Regions from separate parts of the Homo sapiens genome. Here regions 1, 2, 3, 5, 6 and 7 are each linked to region 4. Evidence: promoter capture Hi-C in 16 types of primary human blood cells and fetal thymus (Javierre and others, 2016). All regions are on one chromosome and are shown on one strand. The core of a region is centred on a gene start or on the middle of the fragment in contact, and the rest is flanking DNA. Distances in the headings are between cores, read along the strand shown. Region 1 has its middle 29 kb from the start of CD27. Region 2 overlaps CD27 (CD27 molecule). Region 3 holds the start of LOC107984500 (a long non-coding RNA gene). Region 4 holds the start of CD4 (CD4 molecule). Region 5 overlaps LTBR (lymphotoxin beta receptor). Region 6 holds the start of SCNN1A (sodium channel epithelial 1 subunit alpha). Region 7 overlaps PLEKHG6 (pleckstrin homology and RhoGEF domain containing G6).

Region 1 (3,751 bases), core at 880-3,379, 370 kb after region 4:
AATTAGAGGACAGCCAGCTGGTGTCTGCCACTTGGTGTGTAGGGAACCCCCTGCAACACATTTGGCTATAGAAGTCTTCTTCTATGTTGAATGTTGCAGTGTGAGAGTAGAGGAAAAACACAGTTAGAGGGAGTTTCCCCCACACACTTGCACCAGCAATTTATGAGAGTTCCAGTTGCTCCATATCTTTGCTCATATTTGGTATTGTCAACAACTGGACCTCTGTCATTGTAAAGGAGGATGTTGAGTTTTTTGGTGAAGATGGGTTCCATGTCATCTGTTGACAGCAAGAGCATGATGAGGTAGCATCTGGAAATTTGCATAGAGGAGGTGTGAGCACTCATTGCATGGAGGGAAGGAGCAGGTTGGTCACTGGGATGTAGCAGGATCGCCAGGCAGTGTTAAGGCCCTGGTGGGACCGTAAACTTGAAGTCACAACATGTGAGACTGTCCGTGGTACTCAGAGATTCACTGCAAATGTGAAGAAGGAAATAGTTCAGTTCATCCAGAAGCGGGATGTTTCCATAAAGGTGTGATTAAAGTTCAGAAAAGCAAGGGACTTTATAGTATCAACAAAAGTGACAAAAACAGTGGACTATAGGATGTAAGATGGACAGAAAGGGAAGTGAAAATGGAAGGAGCTGATGCCTGCAAACCAAGCAGAGGAGGCAGAGGACTGGCAGTCCTGAGCGAGGGGCTGAGGCATAGTGGGAATGGTTGAGCAAGAATTGAAGGTTGTGGTCAAAGAGTTTCCACATCTGAAAAGTGGAGGAAATGGCGAGTTGTAATGAGGATTAAAAGTGATAGAACTTGTGCTTCATATGCTGTTACACATTGTATCAATGTTTGTTTGTTTCAATAGTCTACAAGCTTCTTGAAGGTAGGAATCATGTCGCAGACATTCCTGTCCCTAGCATGGCACCTGATGCCAGCAGGTGCTTAGTGAACCTATGAGTGAATCTCTTAGAAGGATGAAGGAAAGAACTGATTTCCCTATAAGACTTTAGTGCTGTGAGAATTTTCTGGACTCTCTCGTTTTAATTTTCTGGACTCTCTAATTTTATTTTTATTTTTATTTTTTATGTTTTTGAGACAGAGTCTCTCTGTGCTGTCCAGGCTGGAGTGCAGTGGCACGATCTTGGCTCAGCACAACCTCTGCCTCCCAGGTTCAAGTGATTCTCCCCTCTCAGCCTCCCAAGTAGCTGGAATTACAGGTGTGCACCACCACACCCAGCTAATTTTTTGTATTTTTAGTAAAGACGGGGTTTCGCCATGTTGCCCAGGCTGGTCTTGAATGCCTGAGCTCAGGCAGTCTGCCTGCCTTGGCCTCCCAAAGTGCTATGATTACAGGTGTGAACCACCATGCCTGGCCAATTTTTTTTTTTTTTTTAATTTTTAGTAGAGACAGGGTTTCACCATGTTGGCCAGGCTGGTCTTTAACTCCTGACCTCAAATGATTCACTCGCCTCGACCTCCCAAAGTGCTGGGATTACAGGAGTGAGCCACTGCACCCGGCCTTTCTTGATCTTAATTGATCTAACAGGCAATAGTTTGTTCAAAATAATAATAGCATCGTGTATTTGGTCATATATATATATGTTACACATAAGTAAAATGAATGATGGTAGTAATACAAAGGATGGGGGAAGTAATTAGGATTATTTTGTTATTATAAGGTACTTGCACTACATGTGAAGTAGTATGGTGTTATTTGAAAGCAGACTTGGATTAGTTTTAACTGTATATTGTAAACTCCAGAGCAATCACTAAAATAAAAGAAATGGAAAAAAAACAAGTATAGCTGATATGCTAAGAGCAAGGAGAGAAAATGGAATAATACAAATGCTCACTTAAAATTACAAAAGCCAGAAAAAGAGCGGAAGATAAAAGTAGGAACAAACAAGAGCAACAATGAGAAAACAGTAACAAATATGATAGGTATGAATCCAACTATGTCAATAATCACCTCGAATGTCAGTGGGGTCTGAATGCATCAATTAAAAGACAGAGACTGTCAGAATGAATTTTTAAAAAGCCCCAACTATATGTTGTCTACAATAAACCCATTTTAAATATAAAGGCACATACAGACCAAAAGTGAGTGGATGGAGAAAGATATAGTTAGCATTAATTAAAACATAGTGGGGCTGGGTGCAGTGGCTCACATCTGTAATCCCAACACTTTGGGAGGCTGAGGCGGGTGGATCATGAGGTCAGGAGTTCGAGACCAGCCTGCCCAACATGGTGAAACCCCATCTCTGCTAAAAATACAAAAATTAGCCAGGGCTGGTGGCGTGTGCCTGTAATCCCAGCTTCTTGGGAGGCTGAGGCAGGAGAATTACTTGAATCCGGGAGGCAGAGGTTGCAGTGAGCTGAGATTGCGCCATTGCACTCCAGCTCTGGGAGACAGAGCAAGACTCCATCTTGAAAAAAAAAAAAAAGGAAAAAAAAACAACAGTGGGCGTAGCTATATTAATTTCAGATGGAGCAAATTTCAGAGTAAGCAAAATTATCAGGCAGAAAGAGGGGCATTAGTTTCAGATGGAGCAAACTTCAGAGTAAGCAAAATTATCAGGCAGAAAGAGGGGCATTACATAATGATAAGGGGGTCAATTCTGCAAGAAGACATAATCCTTGCTGTGTTGCACCTAATAACAGAGCATCAAAAATACATGAGGCAAAAATTGTTACAATTGCAAGGAGAAATGATGAATCCACTATTAGAGATGGAGACTTCAACATCCTTCTTCCAGAAATGGACAGATCCAGCAGGCAGAAAATCATTAAGGATGTAGTTGAAATCAGCAACACCATAAATAACTGGATATAATGAACATCTGTAGACTGCTTCACTCAGCAATGCATTCTTCTTACAGTCACATGGAACATTCACCAAGATAGACCACACTGTGGACCATAAAGCACACCTTAACAAATTTAAAAGAGTAGAAATTATGCAATGCCTGCTCTCAAACTACAATGAATTAAAGTAGAAATCAATAACAGAAAGATAGCTGAAAAATCTCAAAATACTTAGAAATTAAACAATGTGATTCAAACAACCCGTGGGTCAAAGAAGAAATCGCAAGAGAAATTTTAAAATATTTTGAACTAATGAAAATGAAAACACAACTTATCAAAATTTGTGGGATACAGCGAAAGTAGTGCTTAGAGGGAAATTTATAGCATTGCATGCATTATAGTAGGAAAGAAGAAAGATTTATTATACAATCAACTACCTTAGAAACTAGAAAAAAAAGAGTAAACTAAATCCAAAGCAAGCAGAAGAGAAGAAATATAACGATTAGAACAGAAAGCAATAAAATTGAGAACAGGAAATGAGTAGAGAAAATCAACAAAACCAACAACTGGTTCTTTGAAAAGCTTAATAAAATTGGTAAGCCTCTAGTGAGACTAACCAAGAAAAAAATCAAGACAGAAATTACTAATGTCAGAAGTGAAAGAGGGGACATCACCACAGAGCCCATAGAAATTAAAAGGAGAGGACCGGGCACGGTGGCTCATGCCTGTAATCCCAGCACTTTGGGAGGCCGAGGCTGGTCGATCACTTGAAGTCAGGAGTTGAGACCAGCCTGGCTAACATGCTGAAACCCCATTTCTACTAAAAATACAAAAAATTAGCCGGGCATCTTGGTGCGCACCTGTAATCTCAGCTACTCGGGAGGCTGAGGCAGGAGAATCCCTTGAACCTGGGAGGCGGAGGTTGCAGTGAGACGAAATCACACCATTG
Region 2 (3,584 bases), core at 1-2,500, 340 kb after region 4:
AATAACTTTTAATTAAAGTATAATATACGTACAGAGAGGCACGCATGATTGTAAAGCTTAAGAATTTGTACAAATTTGGCTCACAGGCATAACCAGCAGCAGATCAACAAATATAAAATAGCCGGGTGAGGCAGGGAATTGCTTGAACCCGGGAGGTGGAAGTTGCAGTGAGCCGAGATCACGCCACTGCACTCCAGCCTGGGCAACAGAGTGAAACTCCGTCTCAAAAAAAAAAAAAAAAGAAAAGAAAGAAAGAAAATAGCCAGGTGCAGTGGCTTACGCCTGTAATCCCAGCACTTTGGGAGGTTGAGGTGGGTGGATTGCTTGAGCTCAGGAGTTTGAGACCAGCCTGGCCAACATGGTGAAACCCCGTCTCTACAAAAAATACAAAAATTAGCTGGGTGTGGTGGTGCACACCTGTAGGCCCAAGCTACTGGGGAGGCTGAGGTGGGAGGATCGCTTGAGCCCGGGAGGTGGAGGTTACAGTGAGCTGAGATCATGATACTGCGCTCCAGCCTGGGTGACAGAGTGAGATCCTGTCTCAAACACCACCAACAAAAAACAAAACAAAGTATATTAGGGATTCCCAGGGGCTGGGGCTGGGGCTGGGGTTGGTTGGGGGGAAGAAATGGGGAGTCATTGCTAAGGGGTACAAGTTTCTCTGGGGTAACGAAAATGTTATAGAATTAGATAGTGTTGATGGCTGCACAACCTGTGGATACACTAAAATAAATAAATAATAAATAGTTACTTGATTACAGTTACTTAGCCTTTATTTTGTTTGTTTGTTTTTTGACAGAGTCTTGCTTTGTCGCCCAGGTTGGAGTGCAGTGGCACGATCTCGGCTCAGTGCAACCTCCGCCTCCTGAGTTCAAGTGATTCTCCTGCCTCAGCCTCCCTAGTAGCTGGGATTACAGGTGTGTGCCACCACACCTGGCTAATTTTTTGTATTTTTAGTAGAGACGGGGTTTCACCGTGTTAGCCAGGATGGTCTCAATCTCCTGACCTCGTGATCCGCCCGCCTTGGCCTCCCAAAGTGCTGGGATTACAGGCGTGAGAATTTGCCTTTAAAATATACATTTTGCTCAAGTGTAGAGGTCCGATGCTGGGTGGCTGGGTGTTAATTATCCTGGGGGCGGGTGTGGTAGGGCACTAGCTGGGCTGGGCTGGGCTCGCTGGCGGCTGGTTTGAGAGGAGGGTGATTCAGAGGAAGGCAGTGACACCCAGATGTGGGACAGGCTGCAAGAAAGCCTGGTGGGCCTTAGGGCAGACACTTGTGGGGACCCGGGGAGCCCTAGGTGCCCTGACAGGTGGAAGAGGGGTGCAGAAAGGGAGGATGTCAAAGAGAGAATGTCAAAGGTCATAACCAAACCTAACAATTTTCTTCTACTTATGCCTTTTGTCAGGACAAGGAGAGGGACAAATTCCTTCTTGGCATCCTTATGGCCCTGTGACCTGCTAATGAATGCTGACTCTGAGTTGCTACTAGAATTTGGTTTCCTTGTGGCTTCCCAGGAATTGTGAGCCATGTTGGATAAGGACCTGCAAGGGAAGAATGAGGAAGCCTGGGACAGTGCAGGAGGGGAGAGCACTGGTGGTAGAGAGGAGTGATGACAAGGGTCTCCGCCAAAAGGGAAATGGAGGGGTTAAAGAAGCTGCTGGGGAGGGTTAAAAACAATGTGTTCTCACTCGTAGGTGGGAATTGAACAATGAGAACACTTGGACACAGGAAGGGGAACATCACACACTGGGGCCTGTCGTGGGGTGTGGGGAGGGAGGAGGGATAGCATTAGGAGATATACCTAATGTAAATGATGAGTTAATGGGTGCAGCACACCAACATGGCACATGTATACCTATGTAACAAACCTGCACATTGTGTACATGTACCCTAGAACTTAAAGTATAATTAAAAAACAAAACAAAACAAAACAAAAACAATGAGGTGCTATTGTTTTAGTGGTGAGTATCCGGAGACCTGGGAGTTCTATTTACCAGGTATAACCTGGGCTCAAAATTCCAGGCTGACTTCAGGCATGTCCTCATCTCATAGATGCCAGCACTAAGGCCCAGAGAGGGCCGAGCTCATTCAGCCCACCCATCTTCTCACCCCTGACTGCATTTCCCGGGGGTCCTTCTGCAGCCAGGTGCTGCTGTGGTACTTTGGGATCTATTGGCTGAGCTCCCAGAGAAGGGTCATGGATTGGGCTAGTTTGGAACAAGTGAAGGGACTGAAGATGGGCTCAGTATGGGGCGAAGACCTTCAGGAAGGGTCTGCAGAGTGAGTAGGGGGGTTTTGACTAGGAAAAGTTCCAACCCTGCCGGGGCCGCTGTCAAGAGAAAAGCATCTATTACAGTTACATTTTTAAGTTAAGTAGACTGAAGAATATTTCTTGTGTATTAAAGACGTTCCTTTTTGGTTGATTTGCAATGGAAAAGCTTTTGTTTTCTTTTTTTTTTTGGAAACAGGGTCTCACTCTGCTCACTCTGTCTCCCAAGCTGGAGTGCAGTGGTACAGTCACGGCTCACTGCAGCCTCCACTTCCTGGACTCAAGTGATCTTCTCACTTCAGCCTTCTGAGTAGCTGGGACTACAGGTTCGTGCCACCACGCCTGGCTAACTTTTTGTATTTTTAGTAGAGACAGGGTTTTGCCATGTTGCCCAGGGTGTTCTTAAACTCCTGGGCTCAAGGGATCCGCCTGCCTTGGCCTCCTAAAGTGCTGGGATTACAAGTGTGAGCCACTGCTCTGGCTTTTTGTGTGTGTGTGTGTGTGTGTGTGAAAAAGGGTTTTGCTCTGTTACCCAGGCTGGAGTGCAGTGATGTGAGCAGCCTGGACCTCTTGGGGACCTCTTGGGCTCAAGTGATCTTCCCATCTCAGCCTCCCAAGTAGCTGGGACTGCAGGTGCACTACCATGACCAGCCAATTTTTTTAGAGACAAGGTCTCACTATGTTGCCCAGCTGGTCTCAAGCTCCTGGGCTCAAGTCTCTACAAAATATGCAAATACCCTTCTGCCTTGGCCTCCCAAGTGCTGGGATTATAGGCATGAGCCACCACATCTGGTGTTGGTTTTTGTTTTTGTTTTTACGGGACCAGGCACTACAGCTCACACCTGTAATCCTGGCACTTTCAGAGGCTGAGACTAGAAGATTGCTTGAGCCCAGGAGTTCAAGGCTGTGGGGAGCTATGATTGCACCACTGCACTCCAGCCTGGGTGACAGAGCTAGACCTTGTCTCTAAACTAAACAAAACAAAACCCAGTACCAAGAGACCCAGTGACACCAAACACGTTTTGCAAGTAGGTAGTTTAATAGTTACAGTTACCTGGTTCTAAAAAGTGTCTTGCTAGAGAACATTTGTTCAAAGGGGCCACTTTAAAGCCTGCTATTCTAGTGTATACTGGCCGTAGTTTCTGAAATTGTAGCGAAGATGGAGAAATAATAACAGCATTCATAAGCACAACTGCAGATATTATACTTCTTAGTTTAAAAAAAACCTTTTTTTTTGGAACTATAAAATAAAAACACAGGCTACATACATACTCATTTTCTCAAATTGGCTTTTGTGCAAAAAAAGGTTGTTAC
Region 3 (3,325 bases), core at 490-2,989, 440 kb after region 4:
TGAGGAGCTGCCAGGCTGTTTTCCGAAGTGACATCACCATTGTACATCCCTAGCAGCAGTATAAGAGGTTTTCAGTTTCTCCACATCCTGCCAGTTCTTGTTATTGTCTTTTTAAATTTTTATTTATTTATTTATTTATTTATTTATTATTTATTTTGAGAAGACTCTCACTCTGTTGCCCAGGCTGGAGTGCAGTGGCACGATCTTGGCAAACTACAACCTCCACCTCCTAGGTTCAAGCAATTATCCTGCCTCAGCCTCCCAAGTAGCTGGGATTACAGGTGTGCACCACCACACCCGACTAATTTTTGTATTTTCAGTAGAGACTGGATTTCACCATGTTGGCCAGGCTGGTCTCGAATTCCTGACCTCAGGTAATCCACCTGCCTCAGCCTCCCAAAGTGTTGGTATTACAGGCGTGAGCCACCGCACCCAGCCTATTGTCTTTTTTTAAATAACACACATCTTAATGGGTGTGAAGTGGTATCTTATTGTGGCTTAATTCCCTTATTCTTATACAATTATTGTTCCCATTTTTCTTTTCTTTTTTTTTTTTTTTGAGACGGAGTCTCGCTCAGTCGCCCAGGCTAGAGTGTGCAATGGCGCGATCTCGGCTCACTGCAAGCTCCGCCTCCCGGGTTCACGCCATTCTCCTGCCTCAGCCTCCCGAGTAGCTGGGACTACAGGCGCCCGCCACCACGCCCGGCTAATTTTTTGTATTTTTAGTAGAGACGGGGTTTCACCGTGTTAGCCAGGATGGTCTCGATCTCTTGACCTCGTGATCCACCCGCCTCGGCCTCCCAAAGTGCTGGGATTACAGGCGTGAGCCACCACGCCCGGCCTGTTCCCATTTTTCTTTATGGCGTTTATGTTTTTGTCCATAGCATATATTTCCTTACACTGGTGTATCCTGTTTTGTTTTTCGCCTGACTTAGCTTATTTTCTTTCTTTATTAATTTATTTTTTAGGCCAGGTGCGGTCGCTCACACCTGTAATCCCAGCACTTTGGGAGGCCGAGGCGGGCAGATCACGAGGTCAGGAGATCGAGACCATCTTGGCTAACACAGAGAAACCCCATCTCTACTAAAAATACGAAAAATTAGCCGGGCGTGGTGGCGGGCGCCTGTAGTCCCAGCTACTCCGGAGGCTGATGCAGGAGAATGGTATGAACCCGGGAGGCGGAGCTTGCAGTGAGCCAAGATTGCGCCACTGCACTCTAGCGTGGGCAACAGAGCGAAACTCCGTCTAAAAAAAAAATTAATTTATTAAAAATTTTTTTTTTTAGAGACAAGGTCTCACTCTGTTGCCAGAGTTGGAGTACAAAGGCACACTCATAGCTCACTTGCAACCTTGAACTCCTGGCCTCAAACGACCCTCCCACCTCGGCCTCCCAAAGTGCTGAGCCACTGTCCCTGGCTTAGCTTAATTTCTTAAACGCTTCTTGGTACTGCCACTCATAAGGCATCATTATAATGCTAAATAATGCTCTTGTAAAGTGGGTACCCAGGGATCTTGGGAGACCTCTTGGGTGTGGGGTAGAGAAAGCTGAGGTGCCCTAGGAGAACAGGCATCTCTCTGTACCCACAGGGTACTGCTACTATAAGCTCCAGGTTGACTTCTCCTCAGACCACCTGGGCTGTTTCACCAAGTGCCGGAAGCCATGCAGGTTAGTGTCCCCTTCCCCGGGTACAGGTTGGGTAGAATACAGGTTACCGAGCCAAGCATTTGGGAGAGCTCTGCCCCAACACTGAGCACCTTTCTCCATCCCCAGCGTGACCAGCTACCAGCTCTCTGCTGGTTACTCACGATGGCCCTCGGTGACATCCCAGGTAGAGTGTGGGGAAGGGATGGGTGGGGGATGTGTGTGCCCATGTAATGCTGTGGCCTTCTCTGGGTATTATGTGTATGAGTGTGTTTGACACAACCCTATCCCTGTAAGCCTGAAGCATATGGGAGTGACCTTGATGACACCCCCATTCTTTCCTAGGAATGGGTCTTCCAGATGCTATCGCGACAGAACAATTACACCGTCAACAACAAGAGGTCAGTCCTGCCCTGGTCCCAGCCACAAGAAGGGAATCTTTGGGAGGGAAAATAGACCTAAGAAGAGGGATCGATATGGTTGATTAGAGGAAGGTCCAGGAAATTCATCCTCTACCATTTCTTCCCACCCTCTGCCCCACACCTAAGAAATGGAGTGGCCAAAGTCAACATCTTCTTCAAGGAGCTGAACTACAAAACCAATTCTGAGTCTCCCTCTGTCACGGTAGGTCGTGCCTGGATGGAGCCTGTGATGCTCTGGGGGTCTTACTTAGCAGGGCGGCTGTCGGGGAAAACCAAAAGGTTGTCTCTGTGGGCCAGAAGGCTCTGAGTCTCAAAGGCAGGGGACCAAAGAAGAGGGTCAAGGGAGAGGTTGGGAGGGTTGGAAGAAGGAGCTCGGCCGGGGCATAAGGTCTCTGGGGGTGGTGGGAGGGACAGGCATGCTAGATGCTGGGGTGAAGGCGCTTGACCCATGCCCCCATTTCAGCTGCCCCTAACTGTGGGCCAGTTATCAGTTTTCTCTGGGTGACACTGGCCAGGAGCAGAGACAAAGAGCCCAGGGGGCTGCTGAGAGGCTGAGAGGACTCGGGGGTCTTCAGGGATGAAGGGAGACAGCTTGGTGAGGAGGGAAGGGGGCTCCTCTGCCAGAGTCCATCCAGAACCCTCTGTCCCATCGTCAATGTACCTCTCCTCTCACAGATGGTCACCCTCCTGTCCAACCTGGGCAGCCAGTGGAGCCTGTGGTTCGGCTCCTCGGTGTTGTCTGTGGTGGAGATGGCTGAGCTCGTCTTTGACCTGCTGGTCATCATGTTCCTCATGCTGCTCCGAAGGTTCCGAAGCCGATACTGGTCTCCAGGCCGAGGGGGCAGGGGTGCTCAGGAGGTAGCCTCCACCCTGGCATCCTCCCCTCCTTCCCACTTCTGCCCCCACCCCATGTCTCTGTCCTTGTCCCAGCCAGGCCCTGCTCCCTCTCCAGCCTTGACAGCCCCTCCCCCTGCCTATGCCACCCTGGGCCCCCGCCCATCTCCAGGGGGCTCTGCAGGGGCCAGTTCCTCCACCTGTCCTCTGGGGGGGCCCTGAGAGGGAAGGAGAGGTTTCTCACACCAAGGCAGATGCTCCTCTGGTGGGAGGGTGCTGGCCCTGGCAAGATTGAAGGATGTGCAGGGCTTCCTCTCAGAGCCGCCCAAACTGCCGTTGATGTGTGGAGGGGAAGCAAGATGGGTAAGGGCTCAGGAAGTTGCTCCAAGAACAGTAGCTGATGAAGCTGCCCAGAAGTGCCTTGGCT
Region 4 (3,838 bases), core at 226-2,725:
ATTTTGTATCAGCCTACAGCATCTGATACAGCACAAGGAATTATTGGTCAAAATGTGAAGTAGCAGTGACTTCCCCCATCAGGCCCTGCTCTTAGCCTTGCCCCGATAAAAATGTCCACCACAAGAGCAGGGCATTCAGGAAGCACTATCCCACTCAGAGTGAAATCTTTGAATTATTGAGAACAGGGCCTTTCCGTTTTGAGGGATCAGAACGTACCCCAGGAAACCTCTCTCCCAGAAGAAGCCTATGAGGGGAAAGCAGAGGACACTGGGGATAGCACGGCTTCAAGGCCATGAGGTCTCAGGGGCTGGAAAGGTCTGAGGGCGGAAAGGCTGAGATGGCACAGGGCTTCCCTTCAGGAGGGACAGTGAGTCCTCACTCTCCCTCACACCCTGCCAGGCCCAGGAGGGGCTGCACATCCTTCTGTAACTCTCCCGGCCTCATGAGACCCCTACCACCAATTCTTTTCGAATCCGTTTCTTAAATGACATATTTATCTAAAGATATGTATCTGCAACTTTTAGGGCAATTCATACGCAAAAGCTCAGTTTCAACACTTTCTGAGAATTTTAGCTTTCCTATTTCATGAATCATTTTAAAGCTAACTAGAGTAGAAGTGCCTTTAGACATTGTTCAAAAATCTTAAAAGAGCAAAGAAGCAGACAAAAATTTAAAAATACACACAGAAACACAAAAGGTAGTTAAAAGAGACTATTACATAGATCATGCGACTTATGAAATGCTGCAAGTATGATATTTGGTGTCAATTTTTGGAGATTGTCCCGTTAAGGAAAATTGGTTTTGCAAGAATTTTCTCTAGACTAGATTCCACTTCTTTTGCTCTTTTTCTTGTTTTTATGTTTTTCCTCATCATTTCTTTTTTATAGGTTTCCTCCCACCTTATATTTATTTATTCTTTCTAATTTTTTCCCTCCCCTTCTTCACTCTTTTTCTCCTCTTTTCCCCTCTTCCAGTCTTCTCCCCTCAACTGCCCACGACTAGTTGCCTTCCACGCCTTTCCCAGCCTGGGATAGTCTCCAGTCTTCACTCCCTCTCTGATCTTGCTATTTAGGTCACTACTCCTCTAAGGAGCACCCATTGCTCTGGACACTGAGCTGTGCACGCTGGGGCTGCAGAGAGGAGTCTAGCACAGTCTCTGACCTCTGGAAGCTCACAGTTCCAGTGGGAAATCGCTGCTCATGACCAGTTCCAAGAGAAATGCAAGAGAAGGTGGCCAGAGCTGTGGGCAGACAACTGGGCAGAGCACATTCCTGTGCATCTGCCCCACGTTCCCCTCCCTCTCAGCTCCGGGGAAGGAAGCCGAGTCTGACCACCTTACCTCTGGGCTTGCGTCTTTCTTGCCCGCTGCTTCTCAAACAGGCGTATCTGTGTGAGGACTTGGAGCTCTGCAACCAGGAGCCCAGTGGGGAGGGTGCTTTGTTCCTTCTGCAGAGTCGTGCTTAAATGAAGAGAGACAGGAAGCCCGATGGCAAGGCTCCTCCACACCCTAGGCCTGGGCCGGCCCCAAACGTCACCAGCTGGAGCTGGGTTCCCCACCCCCCAGGCTCTCAGGGAACATGTCAAAGTGAAAATGCCAAAGTCAAGGGAAAAAGTTAAGCAGAATCAGGCTTAAATCAGGAGTCAAACTGTCACTGCCACTGTTAAGCGGCAAGAAAAAGATGGCAAGAAAGATTCCATTAGTGGTAGCGCCATGTCTGACCAGGCTGTGGGGAAAGAAGTGGGAGGCAGTTGGGGGCATATGGGAACAGCAGTGGTAAGCCCACAAACAGCTCCTTGCTCTGGGGCCCTGAGGGCATGTGTCCAGTGGGTGCCCCAGGGGTATCTGTGGAGGCTTTATAGGTGGCCCAGTGTGGAAGAGAGGGCGTGGGCTGAGCAGAGAATATCTGAGACACCAGGAGTGACTGTTAACCAGGCTCTGTTCCTCTAGGCGTCTCTGGCCAGGCCTCAGGTGCTTTCCTCTAGCCCGAATCTACCATGAACTCTCTATGTGAGTATCCGTCTGCCCATTGGACATCTCCACTGGGAAGCTCACCGGACATAGCAAACTCAACACACATCCCCAACTATGCATACCACCTGCATACTACCACCCTCCAAACCTGCTTCTCCAGGCTTCTCACTCAGTGAGGGGCTCACCATCCACCAACTTGCCCAAGCAAAATAAATTGGGTGTAATCTTTGACACCCCCTTCACCCAACTTCTCCCACGTATTTATTTACCAGTTCCTGTGGATGTTACCTTCTAAATGGCTCCAAAATCTACCCAAGTCACTCTGCACTACCACTACTGCCACCATGCCAATCCAAGATGCCAATATCATCCCTTGCTCGGACAACAGCTCCTGCCTCCTCACTGGTCGCCATTCTCCATACCACAGCCCAAGTGATCATTTAAAGATGCACATGTGAGTGTGCGTTTTCCAGTCTGAAAAAAGTGGGGCTGGGAGTGGTGGCTCATGCCTATAATCCCAGCATTTTAGGAGGCCGAGGTGGGGGGATCGCTTGAGCCCAGGAAGTTGAGGCTGCAGTGAACCGTGATTGCACCACTGCACTCTAGCCTGAGTGACAGAGTGAGAACCTGTCTTGAAAAGAAGAAAAGAAAAGAAAAGAAAAGAAAACTCTAGTTCAGCTTGCGACTCCAACAATTAACACAAGTACCCCTATTTGACAGCATTGTACTTCATCTGTAGCATATAGTACTGTGTGCTACTTCTCATTTCATGACACACCGTACTCAAGGGTTGAGATTTAATAAAATTAGTATTTACTGCTTCATTAAAGGCATTCTATATATATATATATATATATTTTTTTTTTTTTTTTTTTTTGAGAGGGAGTCTCACTCTGTTGCCCAGGCTAGAGTGCAGTGGCGTGATCTTGGCTCACTGCAACCTCTGCCTCCCGGGTTCAAGCAATTCTCCTGCCTCAGCCTCCCAAGTAGCTGGGGCTACAGGCATGCGCCACAATGCCCAGCTAATTTTTGTATCTTTAGTAGAGATGGGGTTTCACCATGTTGCCCAGGATGGTCTTGATCTCTCTTTTTTTTTTTTTTTTTTTTGAGACAGAGTCTTGCTTTGTCATCCAGGCTGAAGTGCAGCAGCATGATTTCGGCTTACTACAACCTCCGCCTCCTGGATTCAAGCCATTCTCCTGCCTCAGCCTCCCGAGTAGCTGGGATTACAGGCACCCGCCAACATGCCTGGCTAATTTTTGTATTTTTGTAGAGACAGGGTTTCACTCGTTGGCCAGGCTGGTCTTGAACTCCTGACCTCAGGTGATCCTGATCTGCCCGCTTCGGCCTCCCAAAGTGCTGGGATTACAGGCACGAGCCACTGCGCCCGGCCTCATTAAGGGCATTCTTAAGTAAAAGTGGCATTAATTTTTTTTCTTTTTTTACTGTAAGTACCTGGCAGTGAAGAATGCAATGACTATCATATGGTTTGGCACCACTGCCTTCATTTATGCTAAGGCAGCAGTTTTATCCAGATTGTTTTTGCAACATTATTGCAATGTCAACATAGTGACAAAGGAAAATAACATCCTGTATTTTTTTATGAAAATAGCTTGACCTTGAAGATCCCCTGAAAGGGTCTCAGGGACTCCCAAGGGTCTGCAGGCCACACTTCACTCTGAGAACCACTGATCTAGGTAATTTTTATTCATTCTTCAGATCTCAGCTATCGCTTTAGCTGTCCCCAAAGTCTATTTTCTCCTTCTTGGTAATAGAACCCTCAATTTTTAGCTGAGCTCTTAGCTACCCAGATTTAAAATATACTTCCCAGCCTCCCTCACAGCTGGATGTGTCCAAGTGACTCA
Region 5 (3,465 bases), core at 772-3,271, 400 kb after region 4:
AAGGCAAACCAAAAACTTTCTCCTAATGGTGCTTTATACCCTGGAAAGGAAGACTTCCCTGTGCATGTCATTGTACAATTGCAAAGAAGAATGAGTTTATTGGCTCCTGGGATTGGGGGAAGGGCCTCTTCTCCTGATGTCACGGAATCTCTGCTCTAGTACAAAAATGCGGTTCTGTCCTTAGGAAATGTGCAGAAGTCTGTTGGACAGGCAGCAGAAAGAGTCCACCACAGCTGTCTATGTGAACCGCTTTATCTTTTGAAAAGGGAAGTTCTTACTGACCCTTGTTGGGCTGACCCTGCCGGTACTCACAGTGCTTCCTGCGGGAAAAGACTAGAGTGAGTCTCCTGTGAAGTCTCAGACTGGTGGGGAAGCCGAACGCCCACCTCCCATCCACTGTGTCCACTGGAGAAACCGAGCATCCAGGGACTCCTCTGCGTGTGGCACTGTGCGGGCTTGGGGAGGAGTGGCGTGGTCAGAAAGCAGCCATCCCCTTACCGTCCTCATGGTTTTTCTTGGCTCTGCCATCCCAGGGGATGCAAAGCTTCACTCCAAGTTCTGGGATATTCAGGGTGGTAAACTTGCCACAGGATTGTTGCTAGTTGAAATTCTGTTGGGGAGGAGAGAAGCCGGAGAACTCCTACTTTGACATTGTGTTGATGCCACTCTCAAAAAGGGAAATTCTGAATTACCCCATCCTCCCCCATCTCCCTGTGCTACTGCTCTGTCCCCAGTTCCATCCACCTTTCTTCTGGACTACAGCCTTGGCCCCCTAACGGGTGTCCCACCCCCGTGTTGATGTGGGTTGGACTTGGTGTTAGCTTTCTCCTCCCTGTGGTAGAGGATTAGGGTTCTCACAACCAACAGTTACCCCATTGTCAACTGCCATTGCATCCTGTTGCATCTTTTGAAGACCACCATCAAGAGGCTGTCTTTGTTGGTTTTCTGCCAGCTTTTCCTTGTAGACAGGAGCTCCCCTCTACGTGGCCTGTGCTCTGTGGATGTGTCCTGGAGCCTGTACTGACTCCACACTGGCAAAATAGACATGGGTAATGCTGTGGGTGGAACTGTGTCTCCCTCCAAAATCCACGTGCTGAAGCCCTAACTCCCAGGACCTCAGAATGGGGCCTTATTTGGAGACAGGGGCTTTAAAGAGGTGACTAAGTTAAAATGAGGTCATCAGGATGGGCCCTAATCCACTAAGAGAAGATTAGGACACACTCATGCACAAAGGCAAGACCATGTGAAGACATAGGTGGCAGGAAGGCCACCATTAGCAGGCCAAGGACAGAGGCCTCAGAGGACACCAACCTTGCCAACACGTTGACCTCTGACTTCCAGCCTCCAGAGCTGTGAGAAGATAAATCTCTGCAGCTTAAGCTATCGAGTCTGCAGTACTTTGTTATGGCGGCCCTAGAAAATTAATTTAGGCAGCCCAGGTGCAGTGGCTCATGCCTGCAATCTCAGCTCTTTGGGAGGCTGAGGTGGGAGGATCACTTGATCCCAGGAGTTTGAGACCAGCCTGGACAACATAGCAAGACCCCACTTCTTAAAAAAGAAATTAAAAAAAAATTAGCCAGGTGTGGTGGCACGCATCTGTAGCTCTAGCTACGTGGGAGGCTGAGGTAGGAAGATCATTTGAGTCTAGGAGCTGAGGCTATATGAGCCACGATTATACCACTGCACTCAAGCCAGGGCGACACAGTAAGACCCTGTCTCTAAAAAAATACAGGCAGGTATAATTATAAATTTGAATGGTGTCACAAAGGGCTGTGCTTCAGCATCATTTCTTTCAAAATATTTTCCTCCTTTTATTTTGTTGAAAAAAATGTATAAAATTTGTTTTTTATCTAAACACATTAGAACAATTATTAAGAATTCATGAGGTCTGGCCCCAGCATATTGCAGGGGCAGGAGGATTTAACTTTATTTAAAGATACAGCTCACCATTATTTACTTTTCAAAAAAGGAAGTTGGATGTGATATTTTCACAGTCAACCTTAAATGACCCATCCACTCCATTGGATCAGACGCCTTCTGAGGTGTGTGTTTTGCAGCCGCCCCACCCTGATGAGCTCCAGCGACAGAGTTCCTCATATCAGACCCATGAGAGTGGCCTTTTATGGAAGGAGCAGCCGGCTGGCAGCAGCTCCCTAACAATCCTGCAAGCTAAGATCCTCTCGACCGAGCACAGGAGAGAATTCAGGGGCAGGGAGGGGCAAACATTTACTAATAAGAGGGCTTGAGAAGATTTAAAGTCCTTTTTGGGGGTAAAAATAAAAGAAGACAAAAAGAAACCAAAAAAGTAAAAATCATAAATACTCTTTCTGAACCAAAAGGAGGCCAGCCTAGATTTCTGTTCACCAACAAAATGTGAACTTGGCCTCTCTCATTTTATGTCTAAAGTGCACACCTCAGGTCAGGCACGGTGGCTCTCACGCCTGTAATCACTGCATGTTCAGAGGCCAAGGCAGGAGGATTGCTTGAGCCCAGGAGTTCGAGACCAGCCTGGGCAACACAGGGAGACCTGATCTCTACTAAAAATACAAAAAATTAGCTGGGCGTCGTGGCACACACCTATAGCCCCAGCTACTTGGGAGGCTGAGGTGGGCGGATCCCTTGAGCCAGGAGTTCAAGGTTGCCATGAGCCATAATAGTGCCACTGCACAACAGCCTGAGTGACAGAATTAGATCCTGTCTCAAAAAAAAAAAAAAAAATTGCACACATTTCCCTTCAATCAACCTTGGAGAACATTTTTCACTTCGCGTGTGGCTAGATGTTTGAGAGTTGACTGAAAAGTAACACCTGCGGAACATGCAAGAGATCTGATTATTTGAGAAGGCCAGACCATTCTACCCGTTCAAAGAAATTCTGGAAGGGCGTGGTATATGAAGGCTTTTTTTTCCCCAAGAGGCCTCTAAAAGCCAGACGAACTAGGTGCAAATCCCAGCTTTGTCATTTGCAGCTGAATTGGGAAAGTTACCGCTCTGTGCCTCAGTTTCCTCATTTGTTAAATGGGAATCATATCTACCTTAGGGAGTTATTGTGAAGATTAAGTAAGTTAGTACTGTAAAGCATTGAGAACACTGCCTGGCACGTTGTCAGCCATCACTGACGAGACTGTTATTACCTGGACTATACTCACCAGCTCCTCACTGAAATATCTTTATGGGATTATATTTTAGTGTCTTGACCTTTGTCTTTGAGATTGTCTCCATGGAATAGTGTTTCTGTATAAATCCCAAGAAAATAAATTATCTAGGTCCCATTCTTTTTATTTGCATGTGGTTACAATATAAATACACTTGCCATTTTCCTCCCCTTCCAAAACTCTTCCCCATACCTAGGAATCCTACCCAACCCCCTAGTTGTTAATGACTCCCTTTCCTCTCCTCTAGGAGGGGAGGGAAGGAGCGTCCTCCCTATAATTTCATCTTCATGCAGGGTCTACCTCAGTCCACGTG
Region 6 (3,797 bases), core at 382-2,881, 410 kb after region 4:
CGCAAGAGACTGCCGCAAGAGAGGAAGCCACAGACCAGGTTGGACCCTGAGCCTGGAGTACTGCCTTTTCTCTTCTTTGCCTGCTAAACTCCTTGCTTGTCAAGATTCAGCAGAGATGACACCTTCTCTGGGAAGGCTTCCTGAGTCTCCTGCAGTGAGCCCCTAGGCTCCCCTAGCCCTTGGCTCTTATGTCTTATCTCTGAGAAATCTGAGATCTGCACTTTTGTTAGAAGTCCGTTTTAAAGACAATCTTTTAAAGTGTACAAATAGAAACCTTATCTTATTGTATTGCAGGCCTATCTCCTCCCCCGGTGTGTATCAATGCTCAGGCTGGGCCTTTGTCTGCTGGCTTGTGGAGGGAGGCAGGACAAGCCAGTGACCACATTCCTGCACTCTGGGCTGCCTCCTGTGGGGCCCGTGAGGAAGCGGCAGCCTTCCCTGCCGCGTGCAGGGCCTGGGTTGTGTGGGTGGCTCTCCCGAGTCTCCTCCAGCCCTTTTTGGGTCTGATTCTCTGACCCTCCTCTCTCTCCTTGCTCACCACTTGGCACTCCACTCCTTATCCTTTTGCTGCATTAAGTTTGGAAAGAGATTTTGGAGAAAATATAGCCCATCAACGAATTTCTCCTCCTCCCAGGGCCTGTCTAGGCGTGTGCCATGCCCACCCTCTTCCTTTCCAGCGCTGGCCACATCCTCCCTGCACCTTCAGTGCCTGCTTTCCCTGCCTCTTCCTGGGCTCCGGGTCTGTGTCCACAGTGTCCTGCGTGGCCCTCGCGCTGCCTCTGGTTGCCCACATTCCTGCAACTCTGTGACCACAGCAGGGGCGATTACACATTCCTGGCCTGGCAGCCAACAGTGTAAAAAAGAACAGAATGTCCTAGGGCCCCGCCTAGCCCCCAGCTTCACCTGGGCCCCTCCCGGGTCTGGACAAGGTTGGAGGGGGTGGCGAGGAATCAGCAGGAAAGAGGAGGGACCAGGAGGAGGCAGACGCATCCCACCTGAGTGCGCTGCTCCCACTTAGTGAGCGGGGAGGAGACCTGCAGAGACCTCTTCTCTCTTCTCTGCAGGGCCTGAGGGTGAGGCTGACCTGTGGGTGCCCTTGGAGGGCTGCCCACTTGCTGAGCCTCTAGCTCCTGGAAGCACACTTGGGACTCCCCCCTTGCTCTCCTTCCTGGAGACAGACTCCCTTTGGTGCTGGCTCCTTCTATTTGCCCCCACCACTGCCCCCCACCTGCCTCTACTCACTCAGTGCCCCTCCTCCATCCCTATCTCTCTGTCCTTCGCTGTCCCTCTCTATTGTCTCCCTCTTTCTGCCCTCCTGTCCTCCCGGTTCCCCACCCAGGCCCTCTCAGCCTGGCTGGCCCCTTCTCCTTGTGTTGCCCTCCTAGCTGTGGGCTCAGGATCCTTCTACTTGTTCAGATCTTTGCCCCTCACCTGCCATCCTGTCCCCCAGCCTCCTTGCCTGTCTGCGTCTAAAGCCCCTGCCCAGAGTCCGCCTTCTCAGGTCCAGTACTCCCAGTTCACCTGCCCTCGGGAGCCCTCCTTCCTTCGGAAAACTCCCGGCTCTGACTCCTCCTCAGCCCCTCCCCCCGCCCTGCTCACCTTTAATTGAGATGCTAATGAGATTCCTGTCGCTTCCATCCCTGGCCGGCCAGCGGGCGGGCTCCCCAGCCAGGCCGCTGCACCTGTCAGGTGAGGGGGAGGAGAGGTTTGGCTGCCAGATTCAACTGGAAAGGAACCAGTCCCAGTCCAGCCGCAACCTGGGAGTGGGAAGCTGGAGGCAGCCCAGACCTCCTGGAGCCCTGCAGTCCTGGGGCAGAGACAGAATCAGGACACAGCTCGAGGTCAGGGCCAGAGGCTGGAGCTGAGGGCCTAGAGTGAGAGGGGGCAAGGCAAGGGGGGGAGAGGAAGAGAGGCAGGATTAGAGAGAGGAGGCAGGCCAGAAAGAGGAGAGCAGGAGAGACCCAAAGAGAAACAGAAGGCAGATAGAGAGGGAGTGAGAGGCAGGAGCTGAGACACAGATCCTGGAGGAAGAAGACCAAAGGAAGGGGGCAGAGACAGAAAGGGAGGTGCTAGGACAAAACTCGAAAGGTGGCCCTATCAGGGAAGCAGAGGAGAGGCCGTTCTAGGGAAGCCCAGCTCCGGCACTTTTGGCCCCAACTCCCGCAGGTCTGCTGGCTCCAGGAAAGGTGGAGGAGGGAGGGAGGAGTGGGAGAATGTGGGCGCAGGGTGGGACATGGGCATGGCCAGGGGCAGCCTCACTCGGGTTCCAGGGGTGATGGGAGAGGGCACTCAGGGCCCAGAGCTCAGCCTTGACCCTGACCCTTGCTCTCCCCAATCCACTCCGGGGCTCATGAAGGGGAACAAGCTGGAGGAGCAGGACCCTAGACCTCTGCAGCCCATACCAGGTCTCATGGAGGGGAACAAGCTGGAGGAGCAGGACTCTAGCCCTCCACAGTCCACTCCAGGGCTCATGAAGGGGAACAAGCGTGAGGAGCAGGGGCTGGGCCCCGAACCTGCGGCGCCCCAGCAGCCCACGGCGGAGGAGGAGGCCCTGATCGAGTTCCACCGCTCCTACCGAGAGCTCTTCGAGTTCTTCTGCAACAACACCACCATCCACGGCGCCATCCGCCTGGTGTGCTCCCAGCACAACCGCATGAAGACGGCCTTCTGGGCAGTGCTGTGGCTCTGCACCTTTGGCATGATGTACTGGCAATTCGGCCTGCTTTTCGGAGAGTACTTCAGCTACCCCGTCAGCCTCAACATCAACCTCAACTCGGACAAGCTCGTCTTCCCCGCAGTGACCATCTGCACCCTCAATCCCTACAGGTCGGTTAGTCCCTCTGCCCCTTCCCTGGTGCCTGCGCCTGGAAGGGTGGTCCAGGGTGCTGAGGTGCTCACTGGGCAGGCAGAGCCTCAGACCTGAGGGTGGGAACTGACACCCCTGTCCCAGGTAGAGCTCACTGCTGGCAAAATGAGGAGCCTCCAGCTTACTGGACTGGCGTCCCTGCCCAGTGGAGCCATCCTAGCACCCCAGGCTCACCCAGAGTGTGGTTGTTGGAGCAGCATTGCCCTCCCCTGCCCTCTCTTCTCCTTCCCTCCCATTCCCTTCTCCCTCCTGCAAGTGGGAGGGAGTGCTTGCAAAAGGGCAGGGGTGTGCTCAGCTGCATCCCTTTTCTGGAGCAAGATGCCAGCAAAGTATAAGACCTCGTCCACCTCAGCAGGAGAGTCTGATGGAGGGGTGAGGCTAGGTGAGGGGAGGCGAGACCGTGCAGGTGCTGTGGAGGTGGTGCTGTCAGTCTTTGTTTAGAAGGGGAATTTATTATGGAGAAAGCAAAGAGGGGGATCGTGGAGGTTAGGGCTGCAAGTGAGCCCAAAGGCTGGGGGCAGGGGCCTTACAGAACAAGGAGAATGGGTCAGGCTAGAGAGCAGCTCCTTGTGAAGCTCTTCCCCCAAAAGACCCAGGCTAAAATGCTGCACTGTTGACCTGCCCAGGTGCCTGACCTTTACGTGCTTGGGTGTGTCCTGAACTTTTGGGTTTCATCGGTGCTCTTTGCCAATGTTGGGTCTGGAAACCGGAGCAGGTGGTAAGCGTGGAGAAGAGAGGAGGGCAGGGCTGAGTGCTTTTGTATACCTTTTATTTGTATTCACTCAGCCATGCCACACCTTGGGAACACCTGCTTCAAGCCAGACACAGGGCTAGGCACCTGGCAAAATGGATTCATGAATAATTCATAAGCCCTTTATTGAAGGCCAGGTAGTTTGCTGTGTTGTGGAGACAGATAAAATAAGATAGCAGA
Region 7 (3,526 bases), core at 171-2,670, 460 kb after region 4:
AGATCTCCTCTGGGAGAGATGCATGCCAAAGGTCCTCTGCATTCCTCATACCTCTCTGAAAAGACAGGAGGGGGTGTTAGGCGACATTCAGTGGCAACGGGTGAGGGTCAGGTGAAGAGTGAGGCGGAGAGCCCTTCCTGCCTCAGCCCCTGTTCCTGCTTTGCCCTCTTTCTATACTACACCCCACCACCATACAGACATCCCCGTCTGCCCCCTCCCAGGCCAGCTTCCCTCCAGCACTTACGATGCGGACAGAGGGGTGTCCAGCTGAATGATGTGGGGCCCCCGCATCCTCTGCAGCTGGGCCCGAGTCAGCTTCCGTGGCCTGCTGTCCCGGGGCTCCTCGGCCCCCTCAATCCTTTGGCTGGCCAGCTCCTCCCGGATCTCTCTGAGCATGTCCTCAGCCCGCATTGGGCGCAGGGATGTGTGGCCAGCTTTCAGGAACAGAGGCCCCTCTTCTTCCTCCTCCCCTGAGGACTCCCAGGGGCTTTCCCCGGCAGAGTCAGCATGGGTTGGGGAGGAGGGAAGCTGGCCCCGAAGCCGGGCCCTGTGGAGTGTTTCCACCACCACATTCCCTCGCTCGGAGGCCCCATCTTCTTCCTCAGACCAGGTTGGTGGGTCTTCCTGGGGAAGACTGCCTCCTTTTAGGATTCCTTCCGGCAGTTCGGGGGCGCTTCGGCGTTGAGGAGCTTGGGGGTCGGGAGGGTGGGGACGCAGAGGGATGTCCCGGAGTTCCAGGGTGGAGAAGGTGAGGCGAGGGTCCCGCCGAAGGGCTCTTTGGCGTAGACGGCTCAGTGGGGAGCGGGACCCCGTGGGGGTGCCTGGGATCAAAGTGCCGTAGCCAGAGTCTGAGGTATCATCTGGCACAAGGGGAGCATCTTCATCTGTGTCTTCTGTCACCACCAGGTGGGGGATAATGGTCGAGAACTCAGGAGTCCTACAGTTAATGGCAAAGAGTCAGATGCGTAGGGGTCAAGTTCAAGTCCAGGGAGTTTCCCTTGATCACTACATCCAGAAATGGCCCCTCCTCCAAACTTATTTTGGTATCATCTTTCCATCGCACTGTGATTGTTTTTCTCATCTGGCTGGCTAGATTTTAAGCTCCTAAGAGAGTACGGGCTGCCTCTATACTGTTTTATCCATAGCATCTGGTCCAGGATCTTGTATCGAGTGGGTAGTCAGGTTTTTGCTGAGTGGTTCCTGAACTTACCTGATATTATCCTCAATGATCGATTCTTCTTTTCTCCTTAAGCTGCTGCCAAGCAGTGGTGCTATCCTAGACGAACCTCACACTCCCCGGGGATTTGGCAGCTCTAATATTCTGCAGATCCACACCTACCTTCACTCTCGAGCTTGCTCCTCTCACAGTGCTCCTGTGTGACTCTAGGCAGGCTAACTCTGTAGGCTGTCTGTGCCCTATCCCCCACCTCCAACCCAACACGGCTGGTACCAACCTTCCGACCCAACACAGCTGGTACCGAGCTTCCCTACCCTGCCCTACGCCTGCGTTCCTCTATCTATTCCCAATTCCACCAAAAATGTGCAGTAATGCCATTTCTCAGCCTTATGGCTCCCTCCTCCTGCTCGGGGAGACCTTGTAGTCCGTGTGAGCCTTACCTCCCCTCTGCGCTGCTCTGAGAGCCCTCCAGGGAAGGCGTGGAGGGCCTGGTGCTGGGGGACTCCCTGTCCTGGTCCCGATAGAGGGTCAGGAGCTCCCTCTTCTGTTGAACATACTCCTCTGCCTTCAGCTTCTGTAGGGCGGCCTGGGACAGGACACTTTCGTTATTAAGAGCTCTCATTTATTGAGCACTTGCTGTTTGCCAGGCACCCTGCTAAGTGCGTTACATATATTACCTTATTTTATTTTATTATTATTATTATTTTTTGAGACTGAGTCTTGCTCTGTCACCCAGACTAGAGTGCAGTGCCACAATCTTGGCTCACTGCAACCTCCACCTCCTGGGTTCAAGCGATTCTCCTGCCTCAGCCTCCTTAGTAGCTGGGATTACAGGCGCCCGCCAACGTGCCCGGCTAATTTTTGTATTTTTAGTAGAGATGGGGTTTCACCATCTTGGCCAGGCTGGTCTCAAACTCCTGACCTTGTGATCCACCCCCCTTGGCCTCCCAAAGTGCTGGAATTAGACGTGTAAGCCACCGTGCCCGGCCTACATTACCTTATTTAATCTTTACAAAAACCCCATGAACCAGATATTTTTACCCCACCTTACTACTGAGACATGGAGACTCTAAGGTTAAGTAACTGTCTGAGGGGGTACTTCTTACCATAAGAAAGTGGGGTGGTGCCGGGATTTGGTGGCACCAAACTCTGGAGCTAGTGTTGGGGGTGAGTGGGGTGAACAGAATGGCCCTTTTCCTACCTGTACAGGTCTTCCTGCTTCTCATGTCCCATTGGCAGACCTGTTATCAGGTCTTCCCCCTCCTTCAGGAAGCCCTCCCTGGTTGGTGGTGATGGTAGAATAAGTGTTCTGAATTGGTACTGGTTGCTCCTTCAAGAGCATCCCTCTCCTACCACCTGGGCCTCTGCCCTGAAGCTGGGAGGAGCAGGAGGGCAGAACGTGGGCAGAGGTGGGCTTTGTCCCAGGCTGAGGACTCTGCTGTCCTTCAGAGGGAGGAAAGTTCCTAGAAGGCTGAGGAGAGGACGCATTATATTATCTGCCTTCTCCCTCCCTCAGCGATTTCATACAGGTACCATCAAAAGGAAATAGCGCCACCTGAGAAAAAATTTTCAAAGCACTTTTGCACATGTGGTCATTTGATACACATCATTGCCCTGTGGTGTGGAGAACATGAATGTTAGCCCATTTTACAGACAAGAAACCTAGACCTAGAGAGGTGAAGTGACTTGCTCAAGGTGCCACAGGTATGGAGAAGCAGAGCTGGGACAGGGCCTTGCTCTTTGAGTCCTAGTTCAGTCACTGCAACACTTTCAAGGACAGCCTTGAAGGGTAAAGAGTTACAGAAGGTCGGTTGTTGGCTTGGGGAGGGGGAGGGGGAGGGAGAGGGAAGAGAAGGTGGCAGAGCTGAGGTTGGAGGCGGAGGCAAGCCTTGGCAAAAGGGAGGTACTGGTGGCTGCTGTGGGCAGCACTGATATCAGGACTTGCTGGTATGGCCATATCCTTGTTAAAATATTGAAGTCTTCCATGCTGGTAAGGGAATGGCTGCTGCCTGGGCCTCAACCACTTCCCCCATCCCCATGATCTAGCAACTAAGGGAGATAACCTCTGGCACAGCAGAGGACCTCTAGTGCAGCGCTCCTTTCTGATTGGTTGATGCCCATGCTATACTAATTGTTAAATATTTCCACTATCTCCCCAGCTTGAAGTATATGAGCCAGCAACTCCTGGGCACCTGGACTTTCCCAAAGCCTCTCAAGAAACCCGGGGAGCAGCTGGGTCAGGACAAGAGACGAAATGGATGAACAGGGATAGGAAAATGACACCAGGCTTATAGTTCCCATTCTGCTTTTTCTGGCTCTCCAGTCACTTATTCCCAAGGCTGACAGCAT

Evidence for each region. The method cuts DNA at HindIII sites, captures the fragments that hold promoters and counts their contacts. A CHiCAGO score of 5 or more calls a contact.
Region 1: a contact is called between a fragment that was not itself captured here and the fragment with the promoter of CD4 in region 4, in 1 of 17 cell types (total B cells). The highest score is 6.2, in total B cells.
Region 2: a fragment that was not itself captured here is called in contact with the fragment with the promoter of CD4 in region 4 in 3 of 17 cell types (activated CD4 T cells, non-activated CD4 T cells and naive CD4 T cells); the score reaches 6.7 in activated CD4 T cells.
Region 3: a fragment that was not itself captured here is called in contact with the fragment with the promoter of CD4 in region 4 in 2 of 17 cell types (activated CD4 T cells and naive B cells); the score reaches 6.8 in activated CD4 T cells.
Region 5: a contact is called between a fragment that was not itself captured here and the fragment with the promoter of CD4 in region 4, in 1 of 17 cell types (total CD8 T cells). The highest score is 5.8, in total CD8 T cells.
Region 6: a contact is called between the fragment with the promoter of SCNN1A here and the fragment with the promoter of CD4 in region 4, in 1 of 17 cell types (naive CD8 T cells). The highest score is 7.2, in naive CD8 T cells.
Region 7: a fragment that was not itself captured here is called in contact with the fragment with the promoter of CD4 in region 4 in 2 of 17 cell types (non-activated CD4 T cells and total CD4 T cells); the score reaches 5.7 in non-activated CD4 T cells.

Annotation. Positions count from the first base shown.
Region 1 is chr12:6,413,717-6,417,467 of GRCh38, reverse strand. No RefSeq gene overlaps it. Among named protein-coding and RNA genes, the nearest start is that of CD27, 29 kb to the left of the region's middle. The HindIII fragment of the contact is 2,514 bases long and covers 873-3,386 here.
Region 2 is chr12:6,445,973-6,449,556 of GRCh38, reverse strand. The region is part of intron 2 of CD27 (CD27 molecule); the gene reads right to left. It overlaps CD27-AS1 (CD27 antisense RNA 1), which reads left to right. Exons shown (of 6, transcript NR_015382.2): 2 at 820-917; 3 at 1,407-1,520; 4 at 2,470-2,596. Among named protein-coding and RNA genes, the nearest start is that of CD27, 2.8 kb to the right of the region's middle. RefSeq lists an enhancer at 3,322-3,441. The HindIII fragment of the contact is 2,383 bases long and covers 59-2,441 here.
Region 3 is chr12:6,347,668-6,350,992 of GRCh38, reverse strand. It overlaps SCNN1A (sodium channel epithelial 1 subunit alpha), which reads left to right. Exons shown (of 13, transcript NM_001038.6): 9 at 1,588-1,666; 10 at 1,772-1,829; 11 at 1,988-2,043; 12 at 2,191-2,266; 13 at 2,740-3,325. The coding sequence ends at 3,120. LOC107984500 (a long non-coding RNA gene) reads right to left here and starts at 2,812. Exons shown (of 4, transcript XR_007063191.1): 1 at 2,726-2,812. The HindIII fragment of the contact is 4,954 bases long and covers 1-3,325 here.
Region 4 is chr12:6,787,165-6,791,002 of GRCh38, reverse strand. It overlaps CD4 (CD4 molecule), which reads right to left and starts at 1,475. Exons shown (of 10, transcript NM_000616.5): 1 at 1,341-1,475. RefSeq lists enhancers at 1,569-1,618, 1,434-1,991. The HindIII fragment of the contact is 6,468 bases long and covers 1-3,838 here.
Region 5 is chr12:6,391,362-6,394,826 of GRCh38, reverse strand. LTBR (lymphotoxin beta receptor) reads right to left here. Exons shown (of 10, transcript NM_002342.3): 10 at 3,261-3,465. Among named protein-coding and RNA genes, the nearest start is that of LTBR, 8.9 kb to the right of the region's middle. RefSeq lists an enhancer at 3,354-3,465. The HindIII fragment of the contact is 2,950 bases long and covers 547-3,465 here.
Region 6 is chr12:6,373,397-6,377,193 of GRCh38, reverse strand. SCNN1A (sodium channel epithelial 1 subunit alpha) reads left to right here and starts at 1,631. Exons shown (of 13, transcript NM_001038.6): 1 at 1,631-1,689; 2 at 2,357-2,826. The coding sequence starts at 2,411. LOC105369626 (a long non-coding RNA gene) reads right to left here. Exons shown (of 4, transcript XR_931591.3): 4 at 3,619-3,797. It also overlaps a transcript of LTBR not described here. RefSeq lists enhancers at 199-803, 2,620-3,224. The HindIII fragment of the contact is 18,398 bases long and covers 1-3,797 here.
Region 7 is chr12:6,324,665-6,328,190 of GRCh38, reverse strand. PLEKHG6 (pleckstrin homology and RhoGEF domain containing G6) reads right to left here. Exons shown (of 16, transcript NM_001384598.1): 14 at 1,618-1,763; 15 at 245-937; 16 at 1-55. The coding sequence ends at 46. Among named protein-coding and RNA genes, the nearest start is that of TNFRSF1A, 16 kb to the left of the region's middle. RefSeq lists an enhancer at 3,095-3,526. The HindIII fragment of the contact is 6,493 bases long and covers 1-3,526 here.